2 separate regions of the Homo sapiens genome follow, and region 2 is linked to region 1. The links are contacts of gene promoters, found by promoter capture Hi-C in blood cells and fetal thymus (Javierre and others, 2016). All regions are on one chromosome and are shown on one strand. Each heading gives the region's core, a stretch centred on a gene start or on the middle of the fragment in contact. The rest is flanking DNA. Distances are from core to core; before and after follow the strand shown. Region 1 holds the start of IDUA (alpha-L-iduronidase). Region 2 overlaps PCGF3 (polycomb group ring finger 3).

Region 1 (6,955 bases), core at 3,493-5,992:
AAAGCTGCCCCTTGCTGTCTTCCATCTGTGGGAGGGGGCGGCTTCCCCTGTCCTCGGTGGCTTGCCGGATGCCAAGTGTGGGAGGAGGTCACCTCCCGTAAACCCCTGGGCTGCCTGGCAAGCCCTGTGGGACCCTCTGAGCGAAGAGAAATGGGTGCGTGCGTGAGGGTACGGTGCTGCTGGCCACACTGCTGGGGAGCCCGGTGGACGGCTGCTGCTCCACCCCTGCCCGGACGCCCCCAGTGAAAGGCGGACCTGGAAGCAATGTGCCAGGCGTGGTCTCAGCCCTGAGGGCCTCCGCCGACCAGTGGCTTCTTCCCCACGTTTATTATAAGCCACTGGGCCATTGCCCAAAAGGTGTCCCCTGCAGGGTAGAGACCTGTGTGAATCTCTTGCCTCACAGAGCCCCAAAATCTAAATCGGAATCGCACACGTCTCTACACACAGCAAGGCCTTCCTCCTGGCCTGTCGTGGCCGGGTCCGTGTGTCTCCCCACACCTCACTGAAATAAACCCTGGGGACACATTTTAGAACAATCTTTCAATCTCTCCTGAGGCCGTTACAGCCTCCTCTGTGTCAAACCCCCCTCCGTCTCCCCTGTATAGGAACACTGGGATTACACTCAGGGCCCACTCGGATAACTAGAATCATCTCTACGTCTTGGATGCTTCACGGAACCATGCCTGCAGGCGCTCGCCATGTGAGGCGACAGGCGCGGGCCTGGACAGGACGGAGGGCGTCTTCAGGAGGCTCTCCTCCCCTCTCACTTCACTTTTCCCATACAGCACCTGTGCCACTCTTGCTGTAAATCCTAATTCCCCAGAAATATGTGAAACCCTGTAACATGATTGTTTTATGCGGTTACGATTCATTAGGTTTATACACAATATACCGTTTCTGTTGCTTTTGTTGGGGTTCAGAAAATGTCACCCAGAGTGAAGGCCTTGGAAGCCAGGCCTTCTCCTGCCTCCTGTCTCTGGCCCCTCATTGTCCCAGGCAGGTCGTAGAAACCTAAGCCCCTTTTCCCCAAAGCCAGCCATAAACCTAAAAGTATGACTCTAATAACTTTTCTCTGTCTTTCTGTGTAAAAACTGGCCATAAAGGAATTCTCTGGCCTGCCTTGTTTGACTGTATGTGGTCAGACCCCTATTCCGGGGCGTTGTGCCCCCACCCAGCAGGAGGGAGAGCTGCAGAGAGAGGCCTCCAGGAACCGAAGCAGATGGGCCTCGCTGGGCTCCCCCAGGAGTCTGTTAGCCTGTCAGGTCTTAACCTTTCGTCCAATCCTATTTCCAGATTCACAGAACCTGAGTATAAAAATGTGGTTTCCCCTGCGCCTTTAGGTCTTTGCTCTGAAAGCTGCTGTGTCACATAAAACTACAATCCAAGAAATCTGTGTACCCTTTTAGTGAAACTTCAGAAAGGCAGGGGAGGTTTTCCCTTCCCCCCGCACTCTTCACTTCTTCCTCTGCACCTCTGAGCTGGGATTTGGGACATCATTCTTTCTACTTGAAGAACACCATTTAATTTTGTCTTTTCTTTTTGAAACAGGGTCTCACTCTGTTGCCCAGGCTGGAGTGCAGTGACGTGATCTTGGTTCACTGCAGCCTCTGCCTCCCAGGTTAAAGCAATTCTCCTGCCTCAGCCTCCTGAGTAGCTGGGATTACAGACGCATGCCACCACGCCCGGCTAATTTTTGTATTTTTGGTAGAGACAGGGTTTCACCATGTTGGCCAGGCTGGTCTCGAACTCCTGACCTCAGGTGATCTGCCCGCCTCAGCCTCCCAAAGTGCTGGGATTACAGGCATGAGCCACCTTGCTCAGCCTAGTTGGATTTAATTTGCTGTTAAACCAATTCGTTATCAGCTTTACTGAGATATGATTTACATACAATAAAATGAAGCAAGTTCAAGTGTATCATTCAATAAATTTTTACTAAGTTTCATGAGGTTTTAATATTTTTTTCAATGTTTTCATTTTGAAAAATTTCAAACTCACAGAAAAGTTGCAATAACAGTATATAGTTTTCACCCAGGTTCACCAACTGTTAATATTTTGCTACCTTTGCTTTTATCTCAGTCTCTGTATGTAATCTAAATTTATTGTTTTGCTTTAATTTCCAGAGCAACTTTGGTTACAAATCTATTGATTCTTCACCTCTAAACCCTTCAGCATGGATCACAAATGAACAAAAAATCTCCATTCACAACCGTGATGCAATCATTGAGTCGTTTAATAATTCTGGAGTTTGACCCAGCGCGGTGGCTCATGCCTATAATCCCAGCACTTTGGGAGGCCGAGACAGGTGGATCATTCGAGGTCAGGAGGTCGAGACCAGCCTGGCCAGGATGGTAAAACGCTGTCTCTACTGAAAATACAAAAATTGGCTGGGCGTGGTGGCTCATGCCTGTAATCCCAGCTACTCAGGAGGCTGAGGCAGAGGTTGCAATGAGCTGAGATCGCACCACTGCACTCCAGCCTGGACAACAGAGTGAGACTTCGTTTAAAAAAACAAAAAACAAAAACAAAAAAAATTCTGGAGTTTATCATTGGTAGAATTTTGTTGCACAATGTACAAGGCATATTCCAAATTGTGAATGTCCCCATCATGCACTTTGTAATAATTTTTCCTGACCCGGATCCATTCCAGCACCGTGCAGTGAGGACTTCTGTCTGTTTTTGTTTTGTTTTACCTTCCTCCAGGGAAGGTGTACTTTTCTGTCCACAGGTGTCCCGGTGAGCGGCTCACCTTAATTCTCTCAGGGCTTGAGGTGATTTAAGGCTGGCTTCAGTCCCCACAAAGACAATTCTGTTGCTGGTTTACCTTTGCTTTTAGGGGATAGAACTTTGGGGTCCCAAGAAAAACCCAAAGTCTTTACCAGGCCCCCCGCCTGAGCCTCGACTTCTGTCCTGTGGCCACAGTGTGAGGAACGAACGCAGCAGCGTGTCGCCATGTCTTGTGTGGCTGGGATACGCTGCAGGGGTGTGGAGTCGCCGCCCCAAAGCGGGCCCCGCCCCCTCCCGGCTTGTCCCTGCAGAGCCCCGAGGCCTCAGAGGCTCCTCAGAGCTCCCAGTGCCCTGGACGGTTCCGTTCAGCGCTCTCCAGTTCTGATGGTTGCTCTCAGGAGGCGGCTGGTCTGAAACAATTCAGTTTCCATTGCTGTGTCCTGCACCACGGTGTGGGACTGGTGGTTTCTTACTGTTTTTCTCAGTTCTCTGACGCTTTGAGGAATTGTTTTTAAAGCGAGTTATCCATCATTTTAGTTGTTTTCTCTGGGGTCGTTGGACTGAGGGTCTTACCCCGCTGTTCCTGGAGACAGTTCTGTACTTGCATGGTTTCTCTCGCCTTTCCCTCCCTTTCTTACTTTTTAGTTTCTTAATGAATTTTTTTGTATTATGTTTTTCCTCCTTGCTAATTTGGAATATATACACACTATTTCACTTTTAAATGGCTAATCACTTTTAATGCAATTTCAACATAAGAAGACCTAATGTTAAGCAATATTTTAACCCCTCTCCCCAAAATAAAAAGACCCAGAACACTGTAACTCTAATTATCCTTCTCCCAACTTAGAGAGGATTATTGTCCAGTATTTTCGTTTTGTTAGTAGACTGTTCTTTTTTTCTTTTCTTTTTTTAGAGATGGGGTCTCATTTTGTCAACCAGGCTGGAATGTAGTGGTGTGATCATGGCCCGTCTCAGCCTTGAACTCCTAAGCTCAAGCAATCTCCCACCTCAATTTCGTGGGTAGCTGGGCCTCACAGGCATATACCATCGCATCTGGCTAAATTTTTTTTTTGTACAGATGGGGTCTTGGTACATCTCCCAGGCCGATTTCAAACTCCAGGCCTCAAGTGATCCTCCCGTGTTGGCCTGCAATTCCAAAGTGCTGGGATTGCAGGTGTGAGCCACCGCACCAAGCCTGTTCTTTCCATTATTATTTTTATACAATGTTTGCTTGGATTCACACATGCATACATGGACTACACATGTACTACAGTTGTCCCATGGTATCCTCGGGGTATTGGTTCCAGGACCCTCCCAGATACCAAAATTTGCAGGTGCTCAAGTACTTGATATAAAATGGCACAGTATTTGCACATTACCTACGCACATCCTACTGTGTAGTTTAAATCAAGATTACTTATAGTCCCTAAAACAATGTAAATGCTCTGTAAATAGCTGTTATACTGTATTGTTTTAAAATATGTATTATTTCGTATTGCTTTGGCTTTAAAACAATATTTTCAGTCTGCTTGGTTGAATCCATGGATCTGAAGCCAAGTGTAAGGAGGGCCCAGTGTGCTCTTCTGGGGTAATTCTCCTTCCTGCTAAAGCGCACGCTTTACTCAGGAGGCTGGGGTGAGAAAATCGCTGAAGCCCCGGAGATGGAGGTTGCAGTGAGCTGAGATCGCGCCACTGCACCTCAGCCTGGGCGACAAAGCAAGACTCTGTCTCAAAAACACACAAAAACAGAGAAAAACAAGACAGTAATGGCTCAACTCACATAGCACCAACGGGCGAAGCGTTCTTCTGAGCGCTTTCCGAGTCATCGGTCCTCAGAGCAGCCCCTGAGGCCCGCAAGGAAGCGGGGCTCCAAGCCCTGCCGTGCTCCCGGCTCCCCGAGGCTCCCCGAGGCCACCCAACCCCTCCCACCCGGCCATCGCCCCCTCACCAAGGCCCCGCCCCGCGGCGGCGGTCACATGGGGTGCGCGCCCAGACTCCGACCCGGAGGCGGAACCGGCAGTGCAGCCCGAAGCCCCGCAGTCCCCGAGCACGCGTGGCCATGCGTCCCCTGCGCCCCCGCGCCGCGCTGCTGGCGCTCCTGGCCTCGCTCCTGGCCGCGCCCCCGGTGGCCCCGGCCGAGGCCCCGCACCTGGTGCATGTGGACGCGGCCCGCGCGCTGTGGCCCCTGCGGCGCTTCTGGAGGAGCACAGGCTTCTGGTGAGCGCTCCGCGGCCTCCGGGACCCCCTGGCCGCACGGGGAGAGCTCGGGCGCCCCCTGACTGCGCACTGTGAGAGCTTCAGAGACCGGAGCTCCCTCCTCTGGGGCCCTGGCTCTCCCGGGCCCGCCCCCCGCCGTGTTTGTGGGTGGGTCCTCCACCTGAGTGGGCGCCGGGGCGTGAGCCTGGGCCGCCCCCTGCAGCCCAGGCCGATGCCCGGGATCCTGCTCTTTGAGGTAAACCAGGAGTCTCCCCTGGGAGTGGACGGCCCTGCAGCGGGACCTGGCCTGCCTGTCCCATTCCTTCCACCTAGAGCTGAGGTACCCGCCTTCCTGGCAGGGCCAGGGCCAGGGCTGGCGTTGGCCCCTCGTCTTACTGCTGCTGCCGTTCCCCATGAAGATGGGACCTCCCCACATTCCTGGCCCTAAGGGTCATTTTATTAGTCACTGAACGCACGGGCAGCGCCTGGATCCTGCGCCCGGGCAGTCCTGGGCTTGAACGTGTGTGTCAGCCGCGCTGCCAGCCATGCTGAGGCTCGGGACTGAGCCGCCCCTTTGTTGTCCCCAGCCCCCCGCTGCCACACAGCCAGGCTGACCAGTACGTCCTCAGCTGGGACCAGCAGCTCAACCTCGCCTATGTGGGCGCCGTCCCTCACCGCGGCATCAAGCAGGTCCGGACCCACTGGCTGCTGGAGCTTGTCACCACCAGGTGGGCGGCGGGCAGGGTCTGGGCGTCCCAGAGCCCCTTACAGAGGCACAGATGGGAGGGGAGGGCTGGGGGCTGCTCGGAAGACCCCTTGTTCCCCCACCTCCCGCCGAAGCACCCTGTTGGGGAGAGCGTGTCCTTGCTGGCTGTGCTGGGGTGAGGGCTGTGTGCTGGAGGGAGCCCCTGCATGGGGCACGGTGGGCTTCCTGCAGGTCTCCCTGCAGGCTCAGGGTTGGCTGCGCCGCACCTGGCTCCTGGTGCACCCGTGAGCATCCCTGTGTGTGTCTGCTGGCCAGGCTGGGTAGGGCCACTGCACCTGAGGGCTGAGCTGAGGTCTCATCGGTCACAGCACCCTGGGCCCTGACGCTGGTGCAGGTGGCCACCCTGTGAGGGGGAGGCACGAGGTGTGAGGGGCACTTGGGTGTGTGGGGCCTTCTGGAAACACAGAGACCCTCGTGCACTTGGCCAGAGCCGCTGGCTCCTACCAGCAGGGTGGGCACCGGGCAGGCCTGGGCATAGGGAGTCCTCTTGGCACCTTGGAGGCTGCATGATGGCGGGGGACCCTTGTTCAAATAAGATGTCAACCCTGAGCGTCAGGTCAGGCCCATCCCTCCTGAGCTGAGGGACGGTGCATTGGGGCCCAGCCAGCACTGTGGGCCAGCCTGTCTCGGAGGCAGAGGTTCTTGATTTCTGAGTGTTTGGGTCCTGCGTGTGATCAGAGGGCCTCCTTTCCCAGTTGGGGTTCCCCGGTTTCCCCAGGGCAGCTGTGGCACAAGAGTGCAGCTCTTGGGTGGCTCCTCCCTGGGAAGGGTCTCAGCAGTGGCTTGCAGACGTCTGCTGTGGGTCCCCAGGAGGGAGCAGAGGCTGCTGGGCAGGCCTGGCCCTGCTACAGATGGGCATCGGTGGCCTCCAGCTCCCTGTGGCGGGCTCGTGCTGTCTGCACGGCATCGTGCACACTGAGGAACAGCTGCTCCTCCTCAGCCGTGTCCCCGGGGCCCTCCCCGAGGAAGCCTCCTCTGCTCAGAATGTCTCTCACAGGCGGGCTGCAGCAGGCTAGCAGCAGGCTGATGCCCAGGGCCCCGTAGTCTCGGCGCAGGTCCTGCAGCGTGCTCACACCGGCTGCGTCTAGGAACAGCAGCGGGGCGCAGTCGATGACCACTGTGTGGAAGCCGGCCGCTGCGGGCACCAGCGCAGCCCTGGTGCTAACCGGGCCCAGGTCCTCGCCCTGGGCAGGGCCTCCCTCACCGACCCCCGTCTCTGAGCCCCCCTCCTTCCTCCTGGCAGCCATGCACCCTGCGTCCAGCCCCGTG
Region 2 (6,955 bases), core at 1,352-3,851, 220 kb before region 1:
CGTGCGACTCCAGCTCTGCAGCATGGCGCACTGGAAAAGGCAGAACCATCCGGAGGCTGCAGGGGCTTGAGGAGGGTAGTAGGAGTGGGCGGGCACAGGGCTCCTGGGCGGCGATGCTGCTGTTTGTCCACCTGTGGCTGTGCCACCAGGGCGACCTGACATCCGCTCTGGACTCGGTGGAGGTGATGTCAGTGCAGGTTCCTGGGTGGTGACTAATGTGCCCCCATGCAGGGTGTTGGTGGCAGGGGGGTTCCAAGGGGGACGGGAACTCCCTGTACCTTCCTCTCAATTTTGCTGTAAACCTTAAATTGTTCTTTAAAAAGTCTAATTTTTTTAAAAGACTGGGGAGCCTAGTGCATTTTTGCACTATGGTGAGAGGGAGGGACAGCCTGGACCGGAGGTAGGGCCTGTGGGGAGAGGGTGCCCCTGGAGGCTGCAGCCGTGGGAGGGGGCTGGTGTGGACTGGGCCTGGGTGGGATGGGGAGGGAAACACTTCGGCCCTATGGGCCTCTCAGGCACCTGTGCCACCTGGGGAACCAGGGTGCCCGATTCCGGAGCTGTCAGGGCTGCTCATGGGGCTGCAAACCACCTCTTCCCGTTGCTCAGTACGGCAGGTGTGGTAGACAGGGTGTGATGGGGCCTGTCAAGAGAAAAAGGGTTCAGGGCAGCTGCAGGCCAGATAGGGGCGGGATGGGAGCCCACCACTGCAAGGAGCTTGTGCCTGCGCCTGCACCCCCTGCAGAAACGTCATCCCCCTAACTGGCACGGGCCTGCCCTGTAATATCTTATATGTTGCACTGGATTTCCGTTCAGCTGTGAGGTAGGGACCACACTCCATCTCTAGGCTGTGAGGTAGGGATGGAGGAATACATGAACCAGCCCCCCCCACCCCATCTCTAGGCACGTTCTTGCATGATTGGGGAGGGGCTGCAGATTTCATACCAGCATCAAGGTGGCCATGTCAGTGTGGGTTGAGCACCTCTCCGCTGCTAATCAAACCTCCTTATCCCCCAGCTGGACATTTTATGCAACGAGGAGATCCTGGGCAAGGACCACACACTCAAGTTCGTGGTTGTCACTAGGTGGAGATTCAAGGTGAGACACGTGATTTGATTTTCAGAGTCTGCTCTGAATGGCAGTGACTTTGCTGTGCATCTCTTATCTAAAATGTTAAATGACTCCAGCTGGGTGCAGTGGCTCATGCCTGTAATCCCAGCACTTTGGGAGGACGAGGCGGGCGGATCACGAGGTCAGGAGATCCAGACAATCCTGGCTAACATGGTGAAACCCAATCTCTACTAAAAATACAAAAAATTAGCCAGGCGTAGTGGTGGGCACCTGTAGTCTCAGCTACTCAGGAGGCTGAGGCAGGAGAATGGTGTGAACCCGGGAGACGAAGCTTGCAGTGAGCCAAGATCGTGCCACTGCACTCCAACCTAGGCGACAGAGGGAGACTCTGTCTCAAAAAAAAAAAAAAAGTGATGACTCAGCTACAGAAATTGTTGTGAAACACAGTTCTGGTCTTTCTGAAATCATCAACCCCAGAGCCAGCTTGGAAGGTGCCAGCTGAGCTGCGAAGGGCACAGGCCCTGGTGGGAAAGTGCTGAGGCCATGAGTGCCATGAGCAGAGGGTCCCCTGGGGCCTTTGGGCCCCTCTGAAGCAGGAAACCAATGGTGGAACTCTCCCACCTCAGCTGGTGTTGCTGCCTGGGGAGAGGGGGAGGAGCCAAGGCTGGCCTGGGGCTGGGCCAGAGGGTTTGAGGGAGAAGGGGGCAGGGGAGTGGCAGCCAGGGCCACATCAGGTACAGGTGGCCACCACGGTGTGCACAGTGGTCACTGGGTCACCTGGGGCCAGGGGAGAGGGCACATGTCTTCCTAGCCCGTCTTCCCCCAGCAACTTCTGGGGGACCCTTCTGTTGCTCAGAACAGAAGGGTCTCTGTGCAGCCCTGCATGTGGACTGTGCCTCACGGGACGTGATTCCTCAGCACCCTTCCCGATGAAGTAGGTCCTTCTCGCCTCCACCCCTGCTAAGCAGGCACTGTGCGTTCTTGTGTCTTCCAGAAGGCGCCGCTCCTGCTGCACTACAGACCCAAGATGGACTTGCTGTGAATGGTGCCACACAGCGCCCACAGACTGGGCCCTCGCACCCTTGGGTGCTCCCGGCCGCCGCGCTTAAGAACATTGCCTCTGGGTGTCATGTGGACCAGACTTCTGAATAGAGAATATTTATAACTTTTGTATGAGAGAGAATTCACACTCAACAAGACACTACCAGCACCACGTTTACAGAGGATGAAAACACTTCACAGTCTCCCAGAGCCGATCGTCCTCTCCCCCGCCCCACCCCGTGCTTCAGCCTTGCAGGGAGAGTGATGCTCCAGGCAACACGGTTCTGAGTCACCTTCTGACACGAGCTCCCTCTGCTTGCTTTCCAGGTCTTGAAAATCTGAATTCACTTCAGTTTAGTTTATGAATTTTAGGTTTCATGATAAGCCTCAAGTGTAGTTGGACTTTTATTGAATCCTTCCTAAGTTATTGAAAAAATGTCTTTTCATGGTGAATGACAATATTTATGTTGCCTTTAGCTTCTTGAAGATTTAGAAGTTATATAAAAAATTAATTTAAAAGCAAACCAAAAGAGGTTTCCATTAACATTATGATTTAACCATTGTATTTAATTTCCCACCTTATGAAACACAACAGCAGCTCCCTGACTGGTTCGCCTTTCATTGTGTGAGGTCGGCACTTGGACTCACTCAGAACTGTCGCTCACCTGTGGCTGACACACCCAGCCCTGGAAACGGGGCCCCAGACGCCACGTCGGGATTTCTGACATGCTCAGCAGGTAGACCAGAGGCCGTGTGACCAGCTCAGTGCTGGTTTACGGAACAACTCTTACTTTTAAAAATTACTTGTTCCCCCAAATTGTTGAGTGCCGCCGTTTGGTTTCCTATGTTTTCTTTCCCTGTTTTGATTTTGCTGAAGGGAGAGGTGGTGGTGGTTAGGATCAGAGCTCTCCTGGCATCCGTGGGGAGGATTTGCTGGTGGTGGCTTCGGGCTCATGCCCAGACACACTCACTGCCCCGTCTGTCCAAGGCCTCCCCTTCCCCTTTGCTGGTGGGAGGAGCTCGTGTGCTCCTTGGCCGCTTACTGGAAGGGCGTTTTTCAGAGCTGCAGGGACAGGGTGAGCAGCTGAAGGGCTAGGAGGGAAGCCGGCCCCCGCTCTGCAGAAGCTGCATTTCAGCTGAATCTGTGTTTCAGCCTCAGTTGGTTGCACCGTTAGCCCCTCTCCTCCCGGATGGTCATGTTTTTGTCACATTAGAGAATAAACAGCCACACACACATTTTTTTTTTTCCTTTAAAACAGTAACTTGGAAATATGAAAAGGCCAGAAGGAGGAGCAAGGGCTGTTTTCTGGAGTGGTTGAGGTGTTGTCCTGCAGTTGTCATTGTCTTCTCCACCGGGCTGTTCCCATTTATTTCCTGTGGAACTGAATCCCTCCTCCCTCCACTCCTTGGGAGCCCAGGTGGTCCTTGGCCACCATTCAGGCTTTCCAAGAAGCCAACCACCTTGGAGATTTTTTTTCTTGAATTTCGCTGTTTTCTTCTGCTTCCTTTAGATAAAAAGCAGCTCAAGAGACCTTATCTTAGGGATGAGAAAAACATGCATATTAATTCCATCTGAGTGATTGTCAGTGTAAGGCCTTTTAAAACAAAAGCAAGTTCTTTGTTAGGAATTGGTCAAAATTCATCTCTTTCTTTAAGCCCATCAACTCCCAGGACGGTTTGAGTTACTCAGTTACCTAAGCTTGCTATTCATCCAAATCATTTTCTAGAGTCACTGTATAAGGGTCTATGAGTAGCTGTGTATGAATAAATATTACCTGTCTACCTCAAAATACACATACTGCTGAAGCATTCTGTACAACCGTGTGTTATCACAGTGCAGTTTTAAGTGTAACGTTAGAACTTAGGCATTTTCCTGTGTGGCGGAATAAGAAAGGATTAAACAGTTACAAGCCTCCAAATTCAAATAAAATTAAATCACAGTTCAGATGAAACTGAATATCATTGTAATAATCTCATAATATATATTTGTAACTTTGTAGCTATCTTTGAAATCACTTGACTTTGCAATGGTGCTAAGCTGATAGATTTAAATACACAGACGGGCGAGTGGCGCCCGTGTCGATGTCTTCAGCCAGTGGTGACCCTGCTTTTGTAACCGCGTTAACCTGACAAAACCTCAGCAGCAGAAGTCCCTATTTTTCTAGGAGTTCATCGTGCAGACAGTCTTCACTACAGGACTCGGCCCTGGGGCCTCTGCCTCTCGTCTGACCTTGCAGCCTTAGTCGTTGGAGGCTGGAGCGCAATGGCCCTGCCGTCTGTGGAGCCTCTGGGCGGCCTTCTTTCCTTTCTGTCAACCTCTCATTTCACAGAAAAAGGCTGAATTTCATTTTTTCCAGCATGAAAGCCAGGATCGGTTAGTGGTTGGATTCTATTGGTTTTTTTTTTTTAAACAGATGGAGTTACTGTGAAGAAGTTTTCACAACTATTTATGCTGGTAAAACAAATGCTGTTAAATCACCTTATGCGTCGTTTTCAACAGCAGTGGGGCTAATTACCCGGAATACGGTCTCACCGATGCAGTTTTCATGGACATAGAAAATTCAAATAGAATATATAATATTGAATTTAAGATTTGGGGGGTTAAAAAAGAAAACTTAACTTTATAAAATTATTTATTCTATTTTAAGCCTTCTATCATATTTTCCCATCCAATTGTTTGGTTTCAGTGGTCCAGCTTTATTTACAGGCATATAAAATGAAATTGTGAGATGTTTTGCAAGCTTCTTTTTACTTTGAGTAGCTTTTAATTTGTATGTTTTTATGTGGATGAAGAGCATTTTTTATGCTTTTGTGCAATAGGTTCCAATATGCATTTATTAGACATCTGTTTAAATGGTAATGTAGCATTTATTTTGCTAAATTGAAAGGGAACATAGATGGAATTCCAAAATATGTACATTCAGCTGTTTGGTTTTTCGTTTTTCATTGTTATTATTGTGAGAATGCTGTTATTGGGGTTGTGTGTGAGTGCCCGTCAGCCAGTGATGCCTCGGGCCACGCTGTGGGGCCACCTCAGTCCTGCCTGGGTCCTGGTGCCTTGGACCCCACGTGCTTGTGGCCAGGCTGCCCCTGGGCAGGGCCATGTGGCCTCAGACCACAAGAGCGGAGCTGCCCTGGCCCAAGCACTGCAGCTGCCTGCACCCCCGGGCTTCGCAGCCTTGCTTGTTTTCTCTGAACAGCAACAGAACAGTGTTCACAGCGATTCAAAGGGTGGCATTGGGTTGGACGTTCTGGGTACAAGCCAACCTAGTCCCACGTTGTACGTGAATGTTTAATGTGCTCTCAAAACATGGAAAATAAGTTTAGTGCACATAGCTAAATCACAAAACATCCAATTTCTCTGTTTCCTCAGGAAGTCATTACTGCGCCACCACATCACATGACCTTAACATGATCAATGTATTTCTCTGCCTTGACATTTAAATACATAAATTGAGATAAGTAGATTAGAAAATCATTCAAATGATACCATAATTTGTACGGGACAGGGTGCGGGCAATGGCCACGTGGCCAAGGCCCTGCAGGAACGCGCCGAGGTCTCCCTCACCCTCCAGGTGTCCTTCGCACCCAACAGTGCGTCTGAGGAACGAGCTGCAGTTTGAGCGTTCCCCTGAGATGTGCGTAGCCTCCGTGTAAATGTCCACTCCCATGGCTTAATTGCCTATCAGACGCATTTTCCCAGACGAAAGCAATGTTGGGTTGGGGAAGACAGTGCAGCCACCCAGCCTTTACCAGCAGCGTACGGCAGACGAAGGCAGTCGAGGTGTGGAGGTGATCACGAAGATACATGTGTTTGACTGTTTAATTTGAAAGTTTACATTTTTTATGCTTTGTGTTGGTGTGTAATTTTTGTACTCTTGGTGGCTAGTTTTTGTCAAATCTTTTTTGGAATATTGCTTAAATGTTTTGATTTTATGATAGTGAAGCTTGTATTCAGTGTTTTGCCAATTAATATTATATGCTTGTAATAAAAGCAAAAGAAAAGCTTAAGTGAAAGTGTTTCTGGCTGGAAATGTATTACATAAATCATTTGTATGAGCATGAGAGATGACTTGCTCATGGGATGAGCAATGCTGTGGGTATTGGATGGACCACTCAGGCAGCCTGGCCGCACACACACACATGCATGCTACATATGTGTACGCTCAGACCACATGCCTGCACATATGTCCACACACCAGCCCACGGCTCCCTTCCTCACCCCAGCCCTCCCCACTCCCAGGTTAACCAATGTCTCGATTTGCTTCAGGCGGCATTTGTAAACTGTCACCCTGCTTGCAAACCCTCATTTAAATTGGTCCAGCATTTGCTACCAGAGTTTAGGCCACAAACTTTGTAAAGCTCAGTTTGTCTCCTTGCAGAAAGAGGTTGCTGCAGTTTGGAGCTGGTTATGCCAAGGAAAATACGGCTAAAAAAGAACTTACTGATTCCCATAGGTGTGTCAACTGACAAATGAATGTTCCATCTCCCTACGACAATTTGCTGCCCCTCCCCAAAAAAAGCACTATGGCCAAAATTTCAGTTTTTAAAGGTTAAGTAAAATACAACAATTCTGAAACTCTTAAGAGAACCAGAATTGGAAGGAAAGGAGAATGGCCAAAATTATATTCTCACAACCTAAAGCAGTAAACTTTAAAAATAGGTTCAGTCTTAGACTTGACTTAATTGACTTAGGCTGGGCATAGTGGCTCACACCTGTAATTCCAGCACCGTAGGAGGCCAAGGCAGGCTGATCATCTGAAGTCGGGAGTTCGAGACCAGCCTGGCTAACATGGTGAAATCCCGTCTCTACTAAAAAATATAAAAATTAGCCGGGTGTGGTGGC

What was found. Contacts are between HindIII fragments. The CHiCAGO score rates a contact against its expected background, and 5 or more counts as called.
Region 2: a contact is called between a fragment that was not itself captured here and the fragment with the promoter of IDUA in region 1, in 1 of 17 cell types (total B cells). The highest score is 5.1, in total B cells.

What each region holds. Positions count from the first base shown.
Region 1 is chr4:982,302-989,256 of GRCh38, forward strand. IDUA (alpha-L-iduronidase) reads left to right here and starts at 4,743. Exons shown (of 14, transcript NM_000203.5): 1 at 4,743-4,941; 2 at 5,508-5,648. The coding sequence starts at 4,784. It overlaps SLC26A1 (solute carrier family 26 member 1), which reads right to left. Exons shown (of 3, transcript NM_022042.4): 3 at 5,356-6,955. The coding sequence ends at 6,532. RefSeq lists enhancers at 3,105-3,154, 4,330-4,389 and silencers at 4,600-5,249, 5,032-5,209. The HindIII fragment of the contact is 17,691 bases long and covers 1-6,955 here.
Region 2 is chr4:763,970-770,924 of GRCh38, forward strand. PCGF3 (polycomb group ring finger 3) reads left to right here. Exons shown (of 11, transcript NM_006315.7): 10 at 1,015-1,095; 11 at 2,063-6,120. The coding sequence ends at 2,110. The region is part of intron 1 of LOC124900163 (chloride intracellular channel protein 6-like); the gene reads right to left. PCGF3-AS1 (PCGF3 antisense RNA 1) reads right to left here. Exons shown (of 3, transcript NR_171661.1): 2 at 943-1,078; 3 at 1-640. Among named protein-coding and RNA genes, the nearest start is that of PCGF3-AS1, 14 kb to the right of the region's middle. RefSeq lists enhancers at 1,378-1,925, 2,015-2,074, 4,778-5,719. The HindIII fragment of the contact is 2,409 bases long and covers 1,398-3,806 here.